Regions from separate parts of the Homo sapiens genome. Here region 2 is linked to region 1. The links are contacts of gene promoters, found by promoter capture Hi-C in human tissues and cell types (Jung and others, 2019). All regions are on one chromosome and are shown on one strand. Each heading gives the region's core, a stretch centred on a gene start or on the middle of the fragment in contact. The rest is flanking DNA. Distances are from core to core; before and after follow the strand shown. Region 1 holds the start of MRPS6 (mitochondrial ribosomal protein S6). Region 2 has its middle 17 kb from the start of LINC00310.

What was found. The method cuts DNA at HindIII sites, captures the fragments that hold promoters and counts their contacts. A contact is called where the count stands out against the background at its distance.
Region 2: a fragment that was not itself captured here is called in contact with the fragment with the promoter of MRPS6 in region 1 in 4 of the 25 tissues and cell types used here (H1 embryonic stem cells, adrenal gland, hippocampus and 1 more).

Annotation. Positions count from the first base shown.
Region 1 is chr21:34,071,210-34,075,365 of GRCh38, reverse strand. MRPS6 (mitochondrial ribosomal protein S6) reads right to left here and starts at 1,788. Exons shown (of 3, transcript NM_032476.4): 1 at 1,621-1,788. The coding sequence starts at 1,665. SLC5A3 (solute carrier family 5 member 3) reads right to left here and starts at 1,788. Exons shown (of 2, transcript NM_006933.7): 1 at 1,621-1,788. RefSeq lists silencers at 1,131-1,530, 1,821-2,340 and an enhancer at 927-1,877. The HindIII fragment of the contact is 15,607 bases long and covers 1-4,156 here.
Region 2 is chr21:34,161,965-34,166,120 of GRCh38, reverse strand. No RefSeq gene overlaps it. Among named protein-coding and RNA genes, the nearest start is that of LINC00310, 17 kb to the left of the region's middle. The HindIII fragment of the contact is 3,908 bases long and covers 1-3,811 here.

The DNA.
Region 1 (4,156 bases), core at 539-3,038:
AAGATACTTGGCAACTATGGCAAAAACAAAGGGGAGGGCAAGTCTTCATTTCAAAGGTTTCAAAGGGTTACAGAATGAGCAAATATTATTGCCTACAGGTTGCCTCTTTCAGTGTCACCTGCTACCTCCCCAAGACAAGGAAAGTAAACAAAAGGAATTTCAGTAACGAATTTCCCAGGTTCCACATTCCCTAAAACACGTAAGTTGAAGGGAGGGCTTAAACAACTTCCACCTAATTAAAAATCTTCCCTTTTAATAATGCTTTGTTTTCACTGCTCCTATCCTTTCGGAGTTACATATGCTGGTAAGCAAGGAGGAGGGCCAAAAGGGATATTCAAGAGGCTGAACAGATACTATCTTAACTTCTTCCAAATCCATGAAGAACAAGCTGGGGGACACAATGGCATGCCTGGCCAGGCTGTCTGGACCTCATAGAGAGGCACTGGCGTCCCTTCCCAGTTAACAATATGCAAAGCACACTTCCTAACAATCTCCCGACGCTCCGTGATTGTTAGTTTATCAATTGAGCTTAAGTTCAACCAAACTTGGTAATACTCCTCGCAATTGACCTGGAGCCTAATTTCAAACGTAAAAATGCGTCCACTCCTCTAGCGCTGTAGGAAGCTGTGCTTACAAAGTTCGGACGTGGTACAATGATTTTTGTTTTATTACACCTGGTGGAGAAAAAAAAACATAACACCAAACTACGTTACCGAATTCCGAATTCACGGGAGAATGGGGATTTCGGCGACGACTTGAGGAGTACATGACCCAGGACAGAGGACGAAGTGAGCTGCCTCCGGGCCGCGGGCCCCTGTCCTTGGCCACGCCGTCACCTGAAAGGGGCCGCTGGTTCGCTTAGCATCCCTCCAAACCTGAAATCCCCTACCTCAAGATCAATCAAAAGCAGGGGGAAGAAAGTGTCTTCTGGAGGCGCAAGAAAGGCCACAACTTGGATGAATGAAACTGGGCTAAGGGCACCCGGAGCGGGATTTTCGCTGAAGTCAGAAAAAGAAAAGTCAAAAGATTTTTTTTTAACATGAGAGCGATTGCAAGAGACTGGAATACAGACAACGGCACAAACAAGCTTTGGAGGAACGCTTTATTGGGCGCGGACGTTCCGGGCGGCCGGCGGGCGCTAGAGCGGAGGCGGTCGGCGGCAGCCGGCGGGCGGCGGAGCGGGACGGACCAGGCGGCGGCGGCGGGGCCGGCGACGAGGCAGCTTCACGACTGGCGGGGACGGGCCGGAGTCGGGCTGGGCGCCCGCGCGTGTCCTCCCGCGGACCTTCCACTGGACTCCCGCGGGCCGGCGCCGGGATCGGGGTCGGGGCCCGCTCGGTCCGCCCCGCCCCCCGCCCGGCGGGCCGCTTGCGAGGCACACCCTCCCGGACCGCGCACACGCGCAGGCACACCCCCGCCTCCCGCGCGCACGCGGCCGGGCCCGGCCGGCCCACGCGCGCCCCCTTCCCGCGGACGCCCGCCGCCCGCCCGCCGCCCCGGCCTCCTCCGAGGAGTGCAGGAAGGCCCGGGGTCCCGCGGCCAGGGCGCGCGGGGGACGGCGGCCTAGCGGCAGCGGGGGCGCCCGCGCGGGAAGACCGGCTCTGAGGGAAGGTCACTTACCCGCTGCATGGCTTTCAGGATTAAAGCCAGCTCGTAGCGGGGCATGCCTGGAGGATCGGCGAGTGCGGCTCGGAAGCCAGCCGGTTCCCGGGACGCGAAGGGGCGGGACGGCGGGGACAGTGGGGACCTAGAAACTGCTGCGCCGGACGGCTCCCAGGCGGCGAAAGCACGGTCCGAGAGCGCGAGCCCGGGCTTAAAGGCGCTGGCAGCTGCGCAGACGCCGCGCCACGCCCCCTCGGCGCGCCCCGCCCCGCCCGCGCGCCTTGCCGCCGCCCCGCCCCCTCTCCGCCCGCGGGCGGCCGCCACGCCCCCTCCGCAGCCCCGCACCCGCCGCACCGCCCCCGCCCCGACCCCAGCCCAGCCCGCCGGCCGCGGCTAGGGGCGGTGCTGCAGACGCGGCCCAGAGCGGCTCGCGGCGGCCGCACGCCCCCTCGCGACCCTGCCTGCCCCTACCCCGCCTCCTGCCATGCCTGCTACCTAGCTCTCGAACCGGCTGGAACTTTCCATGCCTTCCTTCTCCTCCCGGGCGGCGGGCGAGTGAGTGCCCGCCAGTGCGCGTGCGCTGCGGTGCGGTCTCGTCCGTGCGCGTGCCCCTCGCCCGCGACTCCCCGGAGCTAGGGACCTTCGCGGCGCAAGGCGGGGTCGCGGCCGGCCCGGGGGCTGTGCGGCCAACGGCTGCTCGCAGGGGTTCTGGAACATTCCCGCCCGGGGTCGGTAGGGGGGTGCAGCTCTCGCCCCCAGCCACAACTCTCAGGTCTGACGCGGCTGACCAGGCCCCCTACCCGGCGAGGAGCGCGCTGGCACAGGCCGTGGGCCGCGGCGCGCGGGCTCGGGTCTGACTCAGTCCCTTGGCACTGCGTGACCTTGGGCCTGCTGCCTGTGCCGAAAGTGGGGACCCGAGTGAGTTACTGCACGTTAACCTCCGAGGACGGTGCCTGGTACACACAGGCGCGATACGGGCATTTGTGGTGTGCCCCTGACCTGCCCCCACGTGTTTCAGCGGAGGGCAGGCGAACACCTTAACTCTATCTCATTTCTTTAAATGTTTCCTCCGCTTTCACTTAAAGGCTAGGCTGAGTGCCTGGGAGACCCTTTAGCAACTGTCTAAGGTGGGCAGGGGCATACGTTCTGCCCTTGCCATCCCTTTACACCCACATGGTTCTCCGCCCTCCAGCCAGGGGCTCTGCAAGTGCAGTTTTCTCCAGCGCCCTTCCTTAGAGGTTGAGTACCCTGCAGCTGAGGCCTCTGCCCCTTGTTTGCCCCATTAAAAGCTCTGTACGTGGAGTGTTTGTCAACTTAAAGTGCTTTAACGTTAATAGGTAAAGTTTAGTGAACACTTACTCTGCATCAGGCCCCATGCCAAGGCTGGTGGATGTGTCTCCTAAAATTCTCACAACAGCCCTGAGGTGACAAAGATTCTTTGCTTGGCCAAACTTTAGTCAGGCTTCTGAATCTCATGCTAGGCCCATCTGTGCACTTCCTTGTAAAATCCAGTTCTAGCACAGAACCCCCATCCCCTCATAGCAGATCAGGTTCCTCATCTTCCTCTATCCCCCAGTCATGTCTTTTCACCCTGGCCTGAGTTCTACAAGAATCCTTTAGATCGGTTGAGCCAGAATCCCTCTTCCCCCGATGGTTACTCTTAGTGATTTTACATGGCCATAAATTTCTACTTGCCGACGCTGCATTCAGAATTGGAGCCCACTCTCTCTCCCCGGGTTTCCCTGATCCCTGTACCCATCGCGTTGGTCCTGAATAAAGTCTTTCTTACCATGCTTTAGTAAGCATCACTGAGTAATTTTTTTAAACAGAGGCAAGCACTGTTAACCCCATATTAGGGATTAGGAAATGTAGGCACAAAAAGTTTTGTAACTAGTCCAAGGTCATACAGTAATAGAAACAAAGTACTTTTAGCCGCCCCTCTACCCTTCTGACCTCCGGTTCTCCTACCACACAGATGAAGATGCTGATTGTTATTCAGTGGATTAACCGTGTAGTCCACGTAAGCCAAGATTAGAGTACCTTTGTCACCTTACCCAGAGGTTACCATTTCACATCCCATGCGTCTATTTGTGACATATGGGAGGTAGGAGATGGAGATGAACCCAAGTTTTTCTGAGATAGCTGGATTTTAACATTTTCTATTTTTAGACTTGTCTACAACCCATACCTGTGTGAAGCCACACAGGTAATCCAAATTGCCTGGCTAAGTGTCAATTAACTTCATGTTTGGTTTAAATAAGTAGCGTACTATAAATAACAGAAGGAAACAAGGAATTTCTGGACCTTCAGAAGTGAGTTACAGGCTGGGTGCAGTGGCCCACGCCCGTAATCCCAATACTTTGGGAGGCTGAGGCGGGTGGATCACCTAAGGTCAGGAGTTTGAGACCAGCCTGGGCAACATCGTGAAATCCTGTCTCTAATAAAAATACAAAAATCAGCTGGGTGCGGTGGCACTTGCCTGTAGTCCCGGCTACTCGGGAGGCTGAGGCAGAAGAATCGCTTGAACCCAGGAGGCGGAGGTTGCAGTGAGCCG
Region 2 (4,156 bases), core at 608-3,107, 91 kb before region 1:
GGTCAATCTGGTGTGCTTTGCTTGTCTGCATGGTTTATGTTGCAAGCTTCCATCTTGCTTTACACCCTGGGGGCATGGCTGGTAATTGCTTGGCAAGGCTTTGTTTAGCAACCCTGCCTGAGGGGAACAGCCCTCTCAGATTTGATACCTCCATGTTTTCTTAGCCCTGTCTCTTAAAGGTTCCCACCCAGCGACTGGGTTCTCTTTTGCCTGTACTGTGTGTGATGCCTGGAAAAAGAGTTCTAACTAATTTAGTCTAAAGAAAGACAAGCACTTGGATCTAATATTTTTTAAAGGGAAGTTAAAAGCTGTGGTACCTTTCAGTTCACGTGACTTTAATCATTAAGAAATAAAAACAGCCCTAAAGACTATTGGTAAAATGCAGGTCAGATGCAAGGTTTGCTAACTGTTTTGAGGTTACAAACTGCTTTTGGGGTTTTGAGAACTATTTGACTTGTCAGCTTCACAACTGGTAGGGACTGAGGACATGGAATTAGCTATGCCCTTAATTATGCTGGAGTCAAACCTTGGCTGCACTTAGCACACAATTAAAGCAAGTTACCAAGTTTTACCTTAAAGTTAAAAATTGCTAGGAGTTAATTGAAACTACTAGAAATAGATTTACAAGCAAGGTGTGTAAGAACAGTAAAATGTGGTTTTTTGGTGAAAAGTTATAAGAAGACATGGAAATGTAAACCTTTACCTAGGGTTTAAAGATTGTTTTGAGTTAAATTAGGAAGAAGCTGAAGGTTCGAAGAAGAAGTGGAAGAATTGTGGAAGTTAATCTTGCAGAAGAGGGTCTCTATGCAAACATATTAGCTAAATTCAAGAGTATTATACCTGTAAAAAGCAAAGATTCCTCTTCAAAAACTTTCCCCTCCATCTAATTAGGAATAAATAGTAACTTCTCTTAAAAACAAAATTTAGGCCGGGCACGGTGGCTCACGCCTGTAATCCCAGCACTTTGGGAGGCCAAGGCAGGTGGATCACGAGATCAGGAGATTGAGACCATCCTGGCTAACATGGTGAAACCCTGTCACTACTAAAAACATACAAAAAATTAGCCAGGCGTGGTGGCGGGTACCTGTAGTCCCAGCTACTCAGGAGGCTGAGGCAGGAGAATGGCATGAATCTGGGAGGCAGAGCTTGCAGTGGGCCAAGACTGCGCCACTGCACTCCAGGCTGGGTGACAGAGCAAGACTCCGTCTAAAAAAGAAAAAAAAAAAATCAAAATTTATTCAAAGACCTGTGCTAACATTCTTAAATAGCTGCTAGCCGTAATAAAAAAGTCAATATACTTCATATTCTTAGGTCCCACAGTTTAGCCTAAATATTTGCCTTGGCGTGCTTATACTGGTCCAAGCAAGCATTAGGTCATAGCCTGTTCCTCTTCTTTATTTAAAGGTGTTTTTACCTTTCTCAGCATTCCACAAGTTACTTCTTCCTTCCTTTATTCTCCTCTGTCTTTGCCTCTTTTAAAAAGTTCTAAGTTGCTGGCCAATCAGGACAAATACAAAACGTAAGGTCCCGTTCCTGCCAATGAAAACCAGACACAGCAGTAGGGTGGACGCGTCAGGTTATAAATGACCCTGTCTCCTTTGTTCGATATACTCTCATGGCAAAACTGCTGGCAAGTGTAACTTTTCTGCCAAAAATATAAAAATGGCCTTGCTGAGAAAATTAAATTTATGTTCAAGTGCTCTTTCTTTACGGCACCAGGGAACAAACATTTCAAACATATGGTTTTTCTGTAAATTGAGTATTGAAATAAAAACACAACAAGGAATTCTTAAAATACTAATCTGCTCTTTGGCAAAGTTTATAAAGGTTTATAAAAGCTTTTTGTTTCTTTAAATTTCTAAGTCATCACTTTGGCAAAATAAATAACTTATAGTAATCTGGAACTCTATTTCATAATAGCAAATGTTTTAAACCTCAAACATTTACTAGCCTTCCCAAAATCAAACTTCAGTTTCAAAATTGTCTTTCCTGACATCTTGCTTTTTGAATACTTCAGAGGGCCCCTGGAGTGTCCAGAAAAGAGAAGTAAACAGGATTATTTGACATGTTTAGGTACATGGGATTGCCAAAATGATGCTCAATCTTCTTTAGGTTATATCTTGGTGAATAATGCTAATATATGTTCCAAAATTGTACAGGATTTCTAAAATTCTAATGTCTGAGTATATGCTATCAACCATAATTAAGGTTTTTATGTTAAGTTATTGTAAACCACAGAGATAACCAAACTTCTTTGTCAATTGTGTTTCTAACTGTAACTACTCTGGACATTCTGCTGTTCATAGACAATTGTTGTCTTGTTTTAATCCTTTTCAAAAGATGGTTTATAACAGGGTATAAGACTCTGACAGGTGCTTTCAGATACAATTTCTGATTGTATTTGAGACAATCAGGTTTGATAACTTTGGAGACTGTGACACTGGAATAAAGGAAAATGTACAGGACTCACAAAAAGCAGAAATGTTCACAAATATCAAACAAAACTGGAGTTAACTAAATAAGCTGAGCTCACGAAGCTGAAGTAAACTTTTTGACTTTTTCTTGGAATATTGTTGATCCTTGTTTTGTTTTTCATAGTCAAGGAAACTTGTTTTGAACTATTATGGCCTTTAGTAATTGAGTAAGGTATACTCCTATGAACGAAAACGTGGAGCATGTTTGTTTCTCTCTGCCTGGTTCCTCTAGAATTTGGAAACTATCTATGAGTATTCTTATGGCAATATAGTTGTTTGCATCAGTGCAATAGGAATCCATTTTTCTTTTGCAACAGGACACAATTGGAGAAAGTGATTATTTTACCAAGGCTTTGACTGGAAGGGTATGCTTCCCTTTAAGGAGTCAATCTCGATTCGCAGAGCCGATAAAAGCCCCATGGGGGAAACTGACCTCATACGCTCGTCTGTGCAGTCCCTGTACAGGGTTCCTGACCTGTGGAATGTCACTTTCTAACAGGTCTAACAGGTCTAGGAGCTCCAAGTTTATCTTGGGACCTTAAGAGGAGAAAATCATCCAACTCACAGGTGTTTGAGGATACAAACCCATGGTTGGGCTCAGCTTTAGAAGGTCTTATCTGAGACTTCTTGTGGAACAAACTTCCATCAAAGCCAATCCAAAAGGCCTATGTAGAAATAATTATTCTTGCTGCACTTTATCCAAATAATCAAGCCAAGAATAAGACTAAAGTTTATTTTGCGAACCATTCAGTCCTATGATCATTTGTTTTTTTAACAAACATGAGGACTGGAGAGAGAGAAATCATGTTTCCAAGCTTATATTTGTCATTAAATTCTAAACTCGCTAGTTGTTTTTAAGTTTTTGCCTACATTTTAGACTAACCCTGCTTCTTCCTGTGAACCAACCAGCAATCTCCAGCTGCAGCTCAGAAAGAACAAGAGGGATGGGAAATGTAAAAATCTGGATCAATATTCTAGTTCTGAGCAGTTATCCTGCAAATCCTGCCAGGTGATGGGAATAAATAGGATGTCCATCACCCAGAGGCTTTTTGGGGGGAAAGTAAAACCAAGGTAGCTAACCAAAGCCAAGTGGCATGCAGCCAAATCCCAGAAAGCATAACTATAGCTACCGGTTATCTGGGTGTGTCACAAGACATCCTTTCTTCTCTCTTGTTGGAGGACTCAGTTCCACATCTTCACCTTAGCATTCAGCTTATGATAAGGAGTCCATGCAACCCCCCAGAGACATATTTTTATCCTAAACTCAATTCCAAGCTTTGGGTCAAAGCCCTATGAAAGAAAACTGGATCTAAGAGATCCAGATGCAGACAAAAACAGAAGTTAAAAGGCACCGCGCAGGTGAGGGTGGTTGATTCCTGCTGATTAAGCCAAGCCCAAGCTTCCTGTTTCATGGATAAAGGCCACCTTAATATCCATGGCATAAATGAGGTCCAGGGAACTCCAAGGCTACTGACAGCAGGTCGGAAAGAGACATAGGTGAGAGCAGATAGTTTCTATTCTCTAGGCCCTCCCTGCTTCATGGGTGCAAGTCGCTTTAGCACTCATGGCAGGACCTGCCAAGGTCACCGGGACTCGAGGAATGCAAGGATGGAAGAGGGAAAGAGGATGCTCTTCCCCTTCTCCCTCAAGTACCCCAGGTATCTGTTAGGAAGAGAAGGGAG